Regions from separate parts of the Homo sapiens genome. Here region 1 is linked to region 2. The links are contacts of gene promoters, found by promoter capture Hi-C in human tissues and cell types (Jung and others, 2019). All regions are on one chromosome and are shown on one strand. The core of a region is centred on a gene start or on the middle of the fragment in contact, and the rest is flanking DNA. Distances in the headings are between cores, read along the strand shown.

The links. The method cuts DNA at HindIII sites, captures the fragments that hold promoters and counts their contacts. A contact is called where the count stands out against the background at its distance.
Region 1: a contact is called between a fragment that was not itself captured here and the fragment with the promoter of RBBP6 in region 2, in 1 of the 25 tissues and cell types used here (IMR-90 fibroblasts).

Annotation. Positions count from the first base shown.
Region 1 is chr16:25,245,617-25,249,049 of GRCh38, reverse strand. ZKSCAN2 (zinc finger with KRAB and SCAN domains 2) reads left to right here. Exons shown (of 7, transcript NM_001012981.5): 5 at 1,660-2,343. Among named protein-coding and RNA genes, the nearest start is that of ZKSCAN2-DT, 10 kb to the left of the region's middle. The HindIII fragment of the contact is 4,882 bases long and covers 1-3,433 here.
Region 2 is chr16:24,537,385-24,540,896 of GRCh38, reverse strand. It overlaps RBBP6 (RB binding protein 6, ubiquitin ligase), which reads right to left and starts at 1,331. Exons shown (of 18, transcript NM_006910.5): 1 at 105-1,331. The coding sequence starts at 270. RefSeq lists enhancers at 1-673, 674-1,668, 3,095-3,389 and silencers at 885-1,064, 1,335-1,384. The HindIII fragment of the contact is 6,685 bases long and covers 1-3,512 here.

The sequences.
Region 1 (3,433 bases), core at 854-3,353, 710 kb before region 2:
TGATATATGTCTTTTCTGTGCCTGGCTTACCTTAGTTAACATAATGTTCTCCATGTTCGTCCATGTTGTTGCAAAAGGCAGAATTTTCTTCTTTTTTAAGGCAGAATAATATTCCTTTGTGTATATAGACCACATTTTCTTTATCCATTCAGCCTCCTGGTTGCTTCCGTATCTTAGCTGTATGTGAATAATGCTGCAGTGAACATGGTAGTGCCTCTTTGGCCTACTGATTTTAATATTTTTGCATATATACCCAGTAGCAGGATTGCTGGATCATATGGTAATTCTATTTTTAGTTCTCTATGGAACCTCTGTACTGTTTTCCATAATGACTCTTCCCAATTCACAGCTCTGCCAACAGTATTCAGAGGTTTCATTTTCTTCTCACCAACACTTCTTATTTTTGTCTCATTGATGATAGCCATTCTGAAAGGTATGAAATGATACCTCATTGTGGCTTTGATTTGCATTTCCCTGATGATTAGCAATGTTGAGCACCTTTTCATGTACCTATCTGCCATTTGTATGTCTTCTTTGGGAAGATGTCCATTCATATCCTTGGCTTATTTTTTAATGAGATTATTTGTTTGGTTTGTTGTTATTTTGCTATTGAATTGTAGGAGTTCCTTGTATATTTTAGTTATTGACCCCTTAGCAGATGAGTGGTTTGCAAATCTTTTTTTCTATTCCATAGATTTTTTCATCACTTTGTTGACTGTTTTTGTTGTTGTTTTGGATTAGATTTTTTTTTTTTTTTTTTTTTTTTTGCTGTATAGAAGCTTTGTAGTTTGATGTAGTCCCACTCATTTATTTTTACTTTCATTGCCTGTGCTTTGATGTCATATCCAAAAAAATTATTGCCCAGACCAGTGTCAAGGAGCTTTGTCCCCTGTGTTTTCTTCTAGGAGATTTATGGTTTCAGGTCTTATATTTAAGGCTTAATCCATTTTGAGTTCATTTTTGTGAGTCGTGTAAGACAGGGGTCCAGTTTCACTCTTTTGTATCTGGATATCCAGTTTTCCGAGCACCATTTGTTGAAAAGATGATCTTTTCCCAGTGATGTGTTCTTGGCACTCTGTCAAAGATTATTTAGCTATACATGTGTGGACTTCCTTCTATGCTCTCTATTCTGTTCTACTGGTCTTTGTGTCTGTTTTCATACCAGTACCATACTGTTTTGATTACTGTGGCTTTGTAATATAGTTTAACAAAAAATTCTTGGCTTCTTTTCTCTTATAGTCCCAGTGCCTATATATGTATGTATGTTATGTATGTTGGGGTGGGCATGGAGGGGAATGTGGGGAAAAGATACACTTTATTTTACAAGTAACAAATACTGAGTAGGAGCATACCCTGAACCTAACACAACACTGGCTACTGAGAGAGAATCAAAGGTTAAAAATATATATTCTTACCCTTAAAGGTTTTCCTGTAAGAACTAGCTAGGAAAAGAAATGGTACATATATGAGAAGTAAAATGATCGTGTAAGTTAGTAGATGTTTGTACCAAGGAAGTCATGTAAAAATAAATGTGCAGTGTCACAGCTGAGGAAGGTTTGGGTGTGAACAAGTGGCCCAGGAGAGCATGTGACAGCAGAAGATTGAGGCATGCAGTAATGACTTCTATGTCTACCATGAAATATGTTTATTTTACTGTAGGAAGTGCAGTGTCTACATCTAACAAGATAACCCGGTTGGAACAGAGAAAGGAGCCATGGACTCTAGGTCTGCATTCCTCTAACAAGAGAAGTATCCTACGAAGCAACTACGTCAAGGAAAAGTCAGTTCATGCTATTCAGGTCCCTGCAAGGAGTGCAGGAAAAACATGGAGAGAGCAGCAGCAGTGGGGTTTAGAAGATGAAAAGATAGCAGGTGTGCATTGGAGCTATGAGGAAACAAAGACTTTCCTGGCAATTCTCAAAGAGTCTCGCTTTTATGAAACACTTCAGGCCTGTCCCCGAAATAGCCAAGTGTATGGTGCTGTGGCTGAATGGTTGCGAGAATGTGGCTTCCTTAGAACCCCAGAACAGTGTCGAACCAAGTTCAAAAGTCTCCAGAAAAGCTATCGAAAGGTGAGAAATGGCCACATGCTAGAACCCTGCGCCTTCTTTGAGGACATGGATGCTTTGTTGAACCCTGCAGCCCGTGCTCCGTCCACTGATAAACCAAAGGAGATGATACCTGTCCCCAGACTGAAGAGAATTGCCATCAGTGCTAAGGAACACATCAGCTTGGTGGAGGAGGAGGAAGCTGCAGAAGATTCTGATGATGATGAAATAGGCATCGAATTTATCCGCAAGTCTGAAATCCATGGTGCCCCTGTCTTGTTTCAGAATCTCAGTGGTAAGAATTGTGCTTTGTTTCTCTGGTAGGAAAACAGATGTGTGATCTTGTGGAAAAAGGAGTAGACCAGAAGTGGCCAAACCCGGGGGGTGCTGTCACACACACCTCACCACTTTCACTGTGGTGTGGCCACATCACTGAAGTACTCTCAGGTGCTTGCTGCTGCCCCCATTGCAGTCAGAGTAACAGCTCCAAGTGGCCGTGGAGAAGTCGTTTTCACTTTAGAGCACAGCATGGATTTTGAGTGTTTGGGTCCTTGTGGAAGGAAGACAAATGGAGTTACAGGGTTCTAAGGATCTTGTATTATCTGATAATTGGCATAAAGCAATCAATTGTATTGCATTATAAGTCAAGCATGCATTATTACGTTATCTAAAATAACCAGTACAAAATTTTGTAACAGTTTCAACAGGTTTTCATTAAAAATAAAATAAACATTTTTTGTGTAATCTAAAAGAAGACAAAGGAGAGAAAAAAGAATACAAAATAGATGAGTCAGATGGAAAAAAATAAGATATAAATCCAAATATATAATTAATTACAAACTTAAAGAACTAAGATTATCAGACATTAATTGCTTATAAGAGATCCACCTTAAATATAATACAGAGACATTAAAATTAAAAAGGCAGACAGATACACCATGCAAAAGAGAGCTGGTGTTAAATATTTTGTGACTGAGACATGCAGAATTAAATCGCCAATTAATAACTGTGTGACAGTAGACACATCACGTAACTACTTTGAGCTTCAATTTTCTCATCCGTAAAATATGGCTAAGAATACCTCATAGGGTTGTTATTAGTGTTAAATAGGATAATATAAATGAAGGCACTGTGAAAATGCTAAAATATAATACAGCATTGCCTGGTATCACTGTTATTAGTAATGTTTCTTTACTCCAGCTAGAGATAAATTCTTTTTTTTTTTTTTTTCCGAGACGGTGTCTCACTCTGTCACCCAGGCTGGAGTGCAGTGGCGCAATCTCGGCTCACTGCAACCTCCTCCTCCTGGGTGAGTTCAAGCAATTCTCCTGCCTCAGCCTCCTAAGTAGCTGGGATTACAGGCACCCACCACCACGCCTGGCTAA
Region 2 (3,512 bases), core at 82-2,581:
ACAGTCCCCACTAGAGACATAATGGCGGTTAGCTTCCTGCCAGGCACCTTCTAGCTAGTATCTCTCTCCAGCCACCAAATATCTTAAGACCAAGCGGCCCTTACCTTCTTTCGTCTGCGCATTGGTGATCTGCAGGTCGCAGTCGGCAGCTTTCAGCTTCTCTCTCCCCATAATCTGCTTCTTTAAGTCGCAGAGGGAGATGTGGAGCCCATCAAAGGTGACGGTATCATAGTTGAGTTTAGAGGAAAATTTATAATGCACACAGGACATGGTGCCAAGGGATTCCTAAGGTTCAGCGAGGAGACGTGGACACTCTCAATATACGTATATTTATAAACTTTAAGAGCAAAATATGTACACACAAAACACTCAAAGACACCGAAGGACCCTAAGGCCTCAGATTAAATACCCCCCAACCACAAGCAGGGGTTCGTCAGAACAATAATCCAGAGACCCCCCGATACTCAGAATCACTTCATGGGGGAGGAGGAGGACGAGGACGGGGAAGAGGGGAAATCGAGAATCCGCCAACGGGCACAATGTCACCCGGCTGGGTCCCCCTCGCTCATGCTAAGGGGCCGGCAGAGACGGGGGGATTGGCGGTGCAGTCAGTAGCGGTCAGTCCACACGTTAAGAGTCCGAGCGACCCCACGGGGTCAGGGGTCCATAGCGCGGCCGCACCTCCCGGCGGGTCTCTCTCTCCGTGGATTGGGGTGACCCAGGCCCCGGGAGAAGGTTGAGGGGAGAGGGCCTAGGCCCGGAGTCCACGAGCGGCCTCACGCCTCCTCCTGGCTTCCGGACGACCGGCGTCAGCTTCCCCAGGCCCAGGCCCAGGCCCCCACCGCACACAAACCCCTGGCGCCTGCTCCCCGGAGGCCACGAGCGGCCCCACGGCCTAGGCCGAAAACGCGCGGTCGGCGGAGGAGAGGCCTTCCCGCAGGCCGCCCCCGGCTCCGCCTCCCCCCGCCGCCGCCGCCGCCTCGGACACAAAGCCGGCGCTAGGCCTCGGCGAGGCCTCGGAGCACTTCCTCACCACCCCGGGCCCCAGCCGGCGGCCGGGTGGCTTCGGCGGACCCCGGGGACACCGCCGAGGCTCCCTGACGCTTCTTCTCGCCGGATCCTCCGCGCTTCGCTCGCCTTTCGTTTCCGTCGCCTTGAGGCCCGGAACCGCGAGAACACGCCCGCAAGCTGCTGGGCAGCGGCTAGGGCTTCTCCGGCTCCCTTTTTGTGTTGGCCCCCTGCCGCTCGGGGGCTCTCACCGAGCGGCGGCGACACCTCCAAGCCAGGTACTATGGCGGACGCGGCCTGGCTTCGGACGAGCGCCCCACTGCGGGGTCTCTTAAGCAGGGATTGCACGGGCGGCGCGCGCGAGGCGGGGCTGGCGTGCGCGGATAGGCGGGCCGAGAGGCGGGGCGGCTGACGTCACAAAGCGCACGGCCCGCCCACGTGACCCCGCGCTTTGTGACTCCAAAGCGCGGAAACTGAAAGAGCAGGGACAACGGGAAGAACCATCTGCTTCAAAAGGGAGGGGGGTTGCGCGTCAGGAGGACCGGCTCACAGGGAGGCTCGGTGGGGAGAGCTCGCCTTGCAGGGGCTGCGTGCAGTTTCCACTGCAAAGTGGCTTGCCTAGGGGTGGCCGGCTAACTCCCCCTTCCCCACAGGCCCCGTCAGCTCCTCTAAGCCTCCCAATTTAAGTGAGCATTATGGTTGCTACGCAGAAAACTATGGTTGCTATGCAAGCGCTCCCTAGCTGCTGCTTCCAATAAACTGGCTACCCTATACTCTTGACAAGTGGAAATCGTGGAGCAGCCGCTGCCAAGAACTGATAACAGCCACCAGCACCATACAGATTTATTGAGCTCTTACTATGTGCTAGGCACAGGGCTGATCGCATAACAACATTGCCAGGCTCAGCAGCCACGTTGTCTGGGTTGGATCCCTGGCTGTGGGGGCTCTAGATTTAACCCCTCTGTGCCTGGGTCTCCTTGGCTGTAAAATGCCATTAAAAATAGTACTTGGTTTACTTGGATTAAATAAATGCACATAAATCCATAGTCTAAGACCATGCCGGTGCATTGACGTGGCTCAATGCACCGAAATATTAATAGCTGTAGCTCAATAAATGTCAATTTAACAACAAAAACCCTACGTGGTCAACATGACATTATTTCCGATTTATAGATGATGGAACTGAAGCTAGCAATCATGTACTTTCTGAATTTGCAGAAGGGGATGCCTGCTCAGTGGCAGGGTCCCGATTCCATTCCTAAGCGCAAATGCCAGGAACAGTGACAAGAACCCCCTCAGTAGATTGGAATTTTTTTTTTCCTTTGGGCATGGGGACGTTATTACATTCAGAAAAAATCATAATATAATAAAATTACATTCATAAACGATAGTTATTATCGTTTACAATCCATGTTCCTCATCCTCTCTGAATTTTACAGGCTAGGCTCAGTGAATTTAGGCAACTGAGAATAAGATCCTATAGCCGAGAAGTAGCAGAGTTTCCCAGGGACTTCCTGCAAGCACACTCCAAATTCTTACTGAACTTGATTTAAAATTAATCACCATCCTGCCAGAAAAGCCTTCCTAAGGCCATCTTTTTAAAATAAGATGGCGATCTTTCTCTATCCCTTTAGTCTTTTCTTCCTAGCACTTGCAGATAGTTGACAGTTACACATTTACTTTTTAATTATCTATCTCCCCCAACCCCTACCTTCGGCTGACAATAGGAATCTTATCTTTATATTTGTTTTTGCTGTATCCTCAGCTCTTAGAACATAGTAGGTGCTCAATAAATACGTGCTGAATAACTGGATACATTTTTACGTGATCCATAGAGATGTCGTGGCAATAAAATTTTGGCCGTAGTCAAGGGCAGCTCTAGAGATACCATTACAATTTAACTCAACCACACACATCAGTACTTTTCATATATAACAAGTTTCTTCCACTTTTACCTCTTTGTTATTTCACCAAAAACTTATTGCTGCCAGGTCCTCTTCAGGTTGGTTGCTTTTTTCTTAAAAGCCTCTGTGTGAATGAAAGGGCGAGGGCTATCTCTAGTGAAAGAAAAACTCGACGAGAAAATTGCAAGCCGTCATGGAATTCACTCCGAAGCGGTGAATCTGTTCCTTTTGCCCGTCTGTGGCCGACCCCTTTATATACTGAATGCCTAATTTAATCAGCGTGGTGCATCATGGGATCTCAAAGTGGGCCACACCCTCAGGATATGACAGAGTGGATCATAACCTAATCTGCAGGGGGGGATGTCCTTGGAAAGAATGTTGTCTATTGGTCCAACCGTTCTCATCTGCCAAAAACTTTGTTCAACCTTGATATTCTCACTTACAGAGGCCTCACTTCATATCACATCAAACAGGTCAAAATGCATTCACCACCTGCAATAAGCCTATGACTTGAGTTGCCTGACTAATTGACACAATGCTACATTTGGTCCATTTCACTGAATTCCTTTACTAATCTTCATTTTGCAGTTTTCTTTTTTT